2 separate regions of the Homo sapiens genome follow, and region 1 is linked to region 2. The links are contacts of gene promoters, found by promoter capture Hi-C in blood cells and fetal thymus (Javierre and others, 2016). All regions are on one chromosome and are shown on one strand. The core of a region is centred on a gene start or on the middle of the fragment in contact, and the rest is flanking DNA. Distances in the headings are between cores, read along the strand shown.

Region 1 (4,094 bases), core at 210-2,709, 300 kb after region 2:
CTGTCTCTACTAAAAATACAAAAAATTAGCCAGGCATGGTGGCATGTGCCTATAATCCCAGCTACTCGGGAGGCTGAGGTGGGAGAATCACCTGAGCCCGAGAGGTCCAGGCTGCAGTGAGCTGAGATAGTGCCACTGCACTCCAGCCTGGGCAACCTGAGAAGAAAAAAAGATGGTCAATCTAAAAAGATTACTAACTTGGGCTTTCTTCAAAGGGCAATGTTAATATGAAGCTCACAAAAGGGCTTTATGTAGTAGTGGAGAGGGAAAAAGTTTCATTATTTGGAAATGGCTATGTTCAGTCTGTCCAGTTTATTTACCTATCTCTTACAGACCACCATTTTGGAGACTCCAGACTCCAGTACAGCCAGTTTCCTATACATACCTAATAGTTAAAGAGCAGTATTTAGAAGGTCTAGAATCAAGCAAAGGGTTAGACAAATTGGCATTCAGATAAGAGATGGCTAAAGCCATTAGGTAAAAGGTTCTTGAGTGACCTGTGTAACAGATGGATCAGACTGATACCACCTGAGCCCACAGATTATTAACATGACTGACTAAAATAGACAGGCAGACCTTACATGACTCTGATGTGATTAAACAGAAGTACAAAGCATTACCTATAAAGCTTTCTTGGCAAAAAATTTAAACTTGAATTTATTCAAGCACTACCAGTTTACCAAAAATAGAGAGGGTAAAGAAACACATTAAACAAAATCACAAGGATACAATCTGCCAACTCTAGAGCGTGGGAAATTCTACAGAACAAATGACCCATTTCTTCAACACGTAAATGACATGAAAACAAAAGGAAAGTTAAGTTTTATAGATTAAAGACACTTATGAGACATATCAACCAAAGGCAATGTGTGGACTTTGGATCCTAATTCAAGTAAGACAAAAATACAAGGTATTTTTGAGATAACTGGGGGAAATGATACATAAACTGGCTATGAAATAGGATTATGGAATTACATGTTAAATTTGTTATGTGTAATAATGATATTGAATGTTTGGAGAAAAAAGTCCTTATCTGCTAGAGATTTTTAAAAGTGTGTCTAGATGAAGCAATATGACAAAACGTTAACAGTACGTCTAGAAAGTGGAAATCCTTCTACTCTATGTTTGATTTTTCAGTAAAAAGTTAATAACATAACATTCTGTGTGACAGGTAGTATGTATTTCTCCCAGTCATGCCAAAGATAGCATTCCATTTCCACCTTCATCTTCTTTGTTTTCCCATCATTTGCCCCCTTGAACTCAAAGCTGTGATACAGACTGAAGAAATATGATGTGACATACCTGTAGTAGCAGTGGCTAAAGTGACAAGATTCTTTCTTAGCATATCATAGAGAGGGCTGTTAAAGAGAGAAGATAAAAAATTAACAACCCCAAATGCCACTATGAAGATATCAGTGGTTTGCCGTTAAATATTAAATGTATTTCTGATGTTATCTCCCAAGTCTCTCTGTAAGGCATACAAAGGCAGAATCTTTTTCCCAGAACAGTTTTTAATTATTTAAATATTAAGATGTTAATGCCCAGGCCCCTGTGTTACTCTGCCCCCATTAAAAAACTGATTAATTTACATTTTATTTCATTAGCGAACAGTAATCCAAGTGGGGAAATCTCTTTTGGAAACTATTCCTTCCTTCCAGGACTGAAGTTTCACATTGTAATTGGAAAGTGGGGGTGGAGGGGAGTCTTTTTTTTTTGGAGACGGAGTTTTGCTATTATTGCCCAGGCTGGAGTGCCATGGCACAATCTCAGCTCACTGCAATCTCTGCCTCCCGGACTCAGGCAATTCTCCTGCCTCAGCCTCCCTACTAGCTAGGATTATAGGCGCCCGCCACCACGCCCAGCTAATTTTTTGTATTTTTAGTAGAGACGGCGTTTCACTTATGTTGGCCAGGCTGGTCTTGAACTCCTGAAGTCAGGTGATCCACCCACCTCAGCCTCCCAAAGTGCTGGAATTACAGGCTTGAGCCACCACACCCAGCTAAGGGAAGTCTTAGTGTAAGACAGAATGAGCTCAGAAGCAGCAGTCATCAAAGCTATAGAGAAAGAGAGCTTCTAAATTACTAATTAGCTTTTGACTATATAAGCTAATAACTTACACCCCATGCAGCTGGAGAAAAGTAACAGGTCAGGTTAGCCCTACTGTGATTCTTACCAGGCTCATCATCAACCTCTAACTGCCCAGCAATTCTACATTTCTCTCATCTGCTCACTCTTCCTCCCTCTCCAACAATTATTTCACAAAATTCTAACCTAGTCACATCAAGCTTCCTCCTACCCAGGCCTTTACACATGGTGTTCAATCAACCTCAAACTCTCTGATTGACTACTTAATTATCTATCTTTCAGCTTTTGGCTGAAATTTCACTTCCTCAAAAGAACATTTTCTTGACCTCTAACACTCTAAATCCCACCCACTCCCTGCTTCATGTATCTCTTTTCTGTAGCACTTGCCATAGTGTAGGTTTACCATGAATTAGTGTGATTATTTGACTAAGATGGGCAAGAGCATCTACTGACTCACTACTCTGTATACTCCATAAAATCAGACTGTGTGTCGCTCATTACCATATTCTCAGTGCCTCATAGGCTACCTAACATATGTAGGCTCTTACATATTTGTTGAGTGAAGTAATAAATATTAATAACCCATAGAAATTAAGTGGCTAGGTATAAGCACCCAAAAAGATACGCAAGCCCTCACTGTTTTTACCTTGGGTCTTTCACGGAGAAGCTCTGACGTCCCAGTAGTTCTCCCAAAAGATCTCCACCACAATATACCATATGCTGCTCCTGCTGATCATAAAGTTGCTTCACCATTATGTACTGACCTAAATAGTGCATGACCTGCATGGAATAAAATACCATGTTGTGATCTGTCCAGCTGCTACCAAAAACACAAATTCATTAGAGGAGGTAAGGTAAGTTAGTTTGCTAAAGAAAGAAATAACATATTTACAAGACTGTCAAAGTTTGTGTAAGGGGTCCTACAACAGGAAAGCCGCTCCCAACTACTAGGTCCATCTACTCATTGTCTTTCTGACAATTAACAGACCCAGACTTTTCAGCACAGAAATGAACTGATCTGACAATGAGAAAAAGCAGTGAATTTACCTAGTATCCTCTTAAAAATTTTCTCAGACGTCCAAATAAAGAAGTCTATTCTATTACTAGAAGTAATTTGCCTGGATTATAAAAATATTTTCCCAGTCCAGGGCACATAAACGACTTTAGGCTTTTGATATGTGTTCACATAATAATTCTTTTTGGCAAATGAAGTACAATGTTTAATAAGAGCCATCAGCATTGTAAGTGGACAAAACATAAAATCCAAGTGTTTATCAAATAAAAATTTAGTCGGCTGAAGTGGTTCACACCTGTAATCCCAGCACTTTGGGAGGCCAAGGCAGGCAAATTGCTTGAACCCAGGAGTTTGATACCAGCCTGGGCAACATGGCAAAACCTGTCTCTACATAACATACAAAACTTAGCCAGGTGTGGTGAGGCACGCTTGTAGTCCCAGCTACTAGGAAGGCTGAGGCGGGAGGATCACTTGAACCTGGGAAGCGGAGGTTGCAGTGAGCTGAGATACCACCACTGCATTCCAGCATGGGTGACAGAGTAAGACCCTGGCTCTAAATAAATAAATAATAAAAATCAGGAAATTCCCTTTATGCAATAGATAGAGTCAAGGTTCATAACAGAAAGCTCATCGTGTAAACTCAGGCAAACTCTGCCATGCTAAATGAAGGAGATGGCATAATTCATCATAACCACTATAATGATATAAAAATCCAGACTTTACCCCTTGCCTGTGTGTGACGTCAGAATTGCCACAGCCAGCTATCTGTATGGGCGGGGCTGCCCTGGAGATGCAGGGCAAGCGCCAGGAACCCCTCCGGGTAGCTACTACCTTGGACCCCCCCCAGTAGTGGAGGGCAGTATGGCAGCGTGCTACCCCCTGGTGGTGGCTATGGGGGTCCTGCCCCTGGAGGGCCTTATGGACCACCAGCTGGTAGAGGGCCCTATGGACACCTCAATCCTGGGATGTTCCCCTCTGGAACTCCAGGAGGACC
Region 2 (4,174 bases), core at 902-3,401:
TTTAAGCCTCTGGGTTTCGTCTAAGCCCCTAAGACAGGAATCGGGCTGCCATTCCCTGTTCCACAGTGGCAACCACAATTTCTGGGGCTAAGTGGGAGTGAGTCTCTTTCCTTACTGGCATAATTCTCTCTCTCTCTCTCTCTCTATACACACATCACACAACACACACACACATCACAACACACACACACATCACAACACACACACACATCACAACACACACAACACACCCCTTCAGTTGAATCCAAAGACAAGGGGAGAAATTACTCCCTCCGAAGTGCCAGCTCAGTCAAGACAAAAGGTGAAATGTATTAGCTGCGTAGCAGGCCCCCATCTCCTTCAATTCTTCCTGCAATGCAATTCCACCACATCCAATCATCCCCAAACCAGAAGGAGGATAGATCTCTGCCTGCCTTCCTCCACTGCCCCCACCTCACAGCTGGTATGGCCCCTATCCCCAGAGGCTTCCACTCTTCACACACATTTTCCCTGGGCTATTCTCCTATTGCTTTAAGTTCTGTGGGCTCTGAGGCTGGCTTTGGCTCCACACAAACAATTAAACTCCTGTCCAACCAGGTCTCAAAGCCCTGTGGCTTGCCCTTGCCTTGCTGGAGATTTGACTGAGGCCCAGCAGGGCCCAGCACATTTCCAAGGGTAGATGAGACGCACTAGGCCCTCATGCCAGGGACACAGGCAGGCAGAAAAGGGGTATTGTTGTCCTCTCCCCCACACTGAGGGATGAGGCATCTCTGCTCAACACACACACACACACACACACACACACACACACACACACCCCATGCCAAAATGCCAAGGAAGGAGTCAGGAGCAGAACCTGGCTCAGGACAGGATGGGGGCTGCCATGGGGACCAGATTCTAGGTGATTCAGCACTCTGCCCACTCTTGGCCCAGCCCATGGGCCACACTCATGACAGCTCCAGATGCCAAAGTGCTGACTTGGAGGCTGAAGCAGAATCTTTTCTAAAATCCAAAATTATCCAGCCCTCCAGCAGGGCTCCTCATCCAGGCCTTTACATCAGGGCTCAGGCCAAGCCCCAGGAGGAGTCTGCTCAGTCATTCCCCTGGACCCTGCCCCTTCCCCATCCTAGTTTCCCAATGCCTAGCACCCCCTCCCCCAATCCATCTAGGAAACAAACCTGAACAGCTAGAGGAGTAGAGTGGCTGCATGGCTGGAGAGGAACATAAGAGAGAGGCCTACTAACCCCCAGCATTCTTCCCCAAGCCACAAATAGGATCGAACATGCAGAAAGGGGTTATATTCCACAACCAAGATCCCCACCCAGGGAAGGGGGGTCCAGAGGCCACTGAGGGAGGGCTGGGTACAGGCTGTATGGCTCCACACAGCACCAGGAAGGGCAGCTAGGGAAGGTGACGGGTGTCAGGCCAGCTAACAGCCAAAGGGGGGAGAAGGCGGGGTTCTTGAGAGGGACTGTGATGCAGGAGGACACCAAGAGGCAGCTGGGAAGGGGCTGGGACAGGGCGTGCAAGGGGGAACCAGGGGAGGACAGAAACTGAGGGAGCAAATGGAGAGACAGGACACCAACTGGTAGGGGCATGAGATGGGGAAGAGAATAGGGGAGGCAAGAAGGGGCTGATGTGTGCGGTAGGAAATACAGGAGGCATGGGGTCATCCAAAGTGGGGTGTCGAGGTAAACAGAAGTACAAGGGCAGGCAGGGCTCACGGATGAGGCGGGGACAGAGAGGAAAGGGAAAGGGTTGAGGATGCGGGAAGGGGGAGGGGACGCGGCCAACGAGATAGAAAGGGTGTTGGGGTGGGCAGGGGGCTGGGAGCTGGACGGGGACGGGGTGGGCATACGAACAGAATCGGATGGATTCGGGGCAGGTGACAGTGTGGAGAGGGGAAGGGATGGGAATGTGGACGGAGGGGGAGGGGGCAGGTCAGGGGATGGAGACAGACGAGGGCGGGAACAAGGGGGTGTCGCTAGGTGGGTTTCCATGACTCTCTACCCCCATCTCTCCGGTGTTCGCGCTCGCCTACCTCCAAGGGCTCGGGCTCCGGCCCTGGGCGCTGTCCGAGCTGTCCGCTGCCGGCGCCGCCACTTCCCCCGCGTCCCCTGCAGCGCCTCTCGCCGCCAGCCGCCGCATTAGGGCAGAGACCAGCCCGTGCGCGTCCCCGGGCGGCCGGCGCGCCCCCGACACCCTGCGTGCGCGCCCCCGCGCCCCTCCCTTCGCGCTCCTAGCGGCCGCTGAGCGGGGACCAGGACAGAGGCGGAGGGAAGGATGCTCCGGACGCAGCCCCGCCTGGCGCGCTGGGGAGCGGTGCGCAGAGCCAGGGCCGGAAAAAAAAATCCTCCTTTCTCTTTTCACCTGAGGCCTCTTTGCGGGCTTGCCTGGAGAGTGATAACTAGTCTCCCCGTTTCCGTTCGCTGAGCACCTACTACGTGCAAAGCACACAGGAGGAAGTACCCTGAAGCCCCAACAGGATCGCTTGTTTGCACCTCCACCATAGACTGTGACTTTAGGGAGCAGGAAGTTGCCGGACAGCTTGTGTTCTCAGGGCCTAGCACAGAGACTTGTTTGTGGTAAACTCTCCAGCAACATTTGTTGATTGGCAAGTCGTTGGATCCTGATTCAGGGATGTGAGAGAGGTTGTGACTGCTATGAACAGTGCGGGGCTTTCTTTTAGAAATGGGAGATTTCCTCTGCCCTAGGGGGACTCAGGCCTCAGTCGTGGCTGGAGAACTATCTGACATGATAGCAAGACATTTATCTGTGGACATCAGTTTCCACAACTGAACCATGAAAAGTTGATTGGGTGGTCGCCCAAGGTCTCTTCTAGCTCTGACACGAAGACTGCATTAGGTTCTGTGCACAGGATCTGAGCTCAGAATTATCACCTGAAACAGTGGAAAGATCCCAGTTAGGGAATCATAGAATCTTTGTCTTGGAAGAGCACTTGGAAGCTTCTAGTTCAGCTCCTCATCCAAAACTACAGTCCCCTGCAGCATCCCTCTGTGGCCCCATTCAAGGGCTACTTTCTCTGTGCTCATAGCTCCTACCCTGGCACCACTGTCTTTTATTCTGGATGAGAACACCAAAGTTCAAGGAACCTGCCCAAGTAATAATTCAAAGCCCAGATGCATCTGACAGTGCCTAGTTAAAACTACTTTGCTATTTTAAGATGGGCCCTACAAGTTTTAGATTTCACCAATACTAGAATCTTCTAATATGGTCAAGTTGAAGGATCACAGGATTTGCCAAGAAAGTCCTGGCTTACCAGCAGGGTAAACTTGGGCAGTTCACTTAACCTCTCTAAGTCTTCTTTTTCCCATCTGTAAAATGGGCATAGAGTGAGCATCAATGAGATAAGGTACTGAACCAAACTGTTCTTTACAAATGTTAATTATTGTTCAGCCTTCCCTCCCCTTTCTTCATTACTTTTAAACAGCAAATACACGAAGGTCTAGAGAGATGGACCCCACACAGTGGTTTGGTGGTTGAAACTGAACTGGGACTCAAGTTTCATGGCCTTAGTATAAAGAAATTAAGTGTGGGCCTAAAGGGAGCATGGTGACCCCCAGAGGCCCTGAGGGTGAAGGTGTTTCCTTGGCCTCGGTGGTGTCCCAGAGCTGCAGGCAAGTCCTGATGGAGGGAGAGGCACCCCCTGCTGGTGATGGACTCTGGGGACTAAGAAGAGCCTACGCACCTTGCAGGCTGTTCTGCTGCTGTGTCAGGAACAGACTCACTCAGGACCGAGGGCAGAAAGTGGTTGCTCTTTTTCTTTCCTGACATTTATCTGGCCTTCCTGCTTCTTTTTCTTCCCTGGGTTTGCACCTCTAGTTCTGGCTGGAACCCTCAGCAAGCATGGACTTTCAACCCAGACCTGAAACCTCACTCACTGTGTCCTCTGTCATGGTGAATGGCAAGTCACAGGATTTTCACATTCCCTAGTGTTTCATTCCTCCCAATGAAATTCCATAAGCCCTGCCTCATCCTGGGCTCAGACCAAGAGAAAGCCCCAGGTATGAGTCTCGGGCACTTGAAGCCATCCTCTTCCACACTGGTCCCTAGGAAGTGTGGGGAAACTGGCAGATTCGTGCATCATTGGTGGAGGTTTAACTTGGTATGGCCTTTTTGGGAGAGCAATACAGCAGTACCATCAAGACTTTAATGACACCCTTGACCCATCAAT

The links. Contacts are between HindIII fragments. The CHiCAGO score rates a contact against its expected background, and 5 or more counts as called.
Region 1: a fragment that was not itself captured here is called in contact with the fragment with the promoter of NFASC in region 2 in 1 of 17 cell types (endothelial precursors); the score reaches 5.2 in endothelial precursors.

The regions. Positions count from the first base shown.
Region 1 is chr1:204,529,455-204,533,548 of GRCh38, reverse strand. It overlaps MDM4 (MDM4 regulator of p53), which reads right to left. Exons shown (of 11, transcript NM_002393.5): 4 at 2,732-2,865; 5 at 1,303-1,358. It also overlaps the pseudogene LOC100291628. Among named protein-coding and RNA genes, the nearest start is that of MDM4, 15 kb to the right of the region's middle. The HindIII fragment of the contact is 1,657 bases long and covers 631-2,287 here.
Region 2 is chr1:204,826,629-204,830,802 of GRCh38, reverse strand. It overlaps NFASC (neurofascin), which reads right to left and starts at 2,151. Exons shown (of 30, transcript NM_001005388.3): 1 at 2,021-2,151. The HindIII fragment of the contact is 3,169 bases long and covers 1-2,947 here.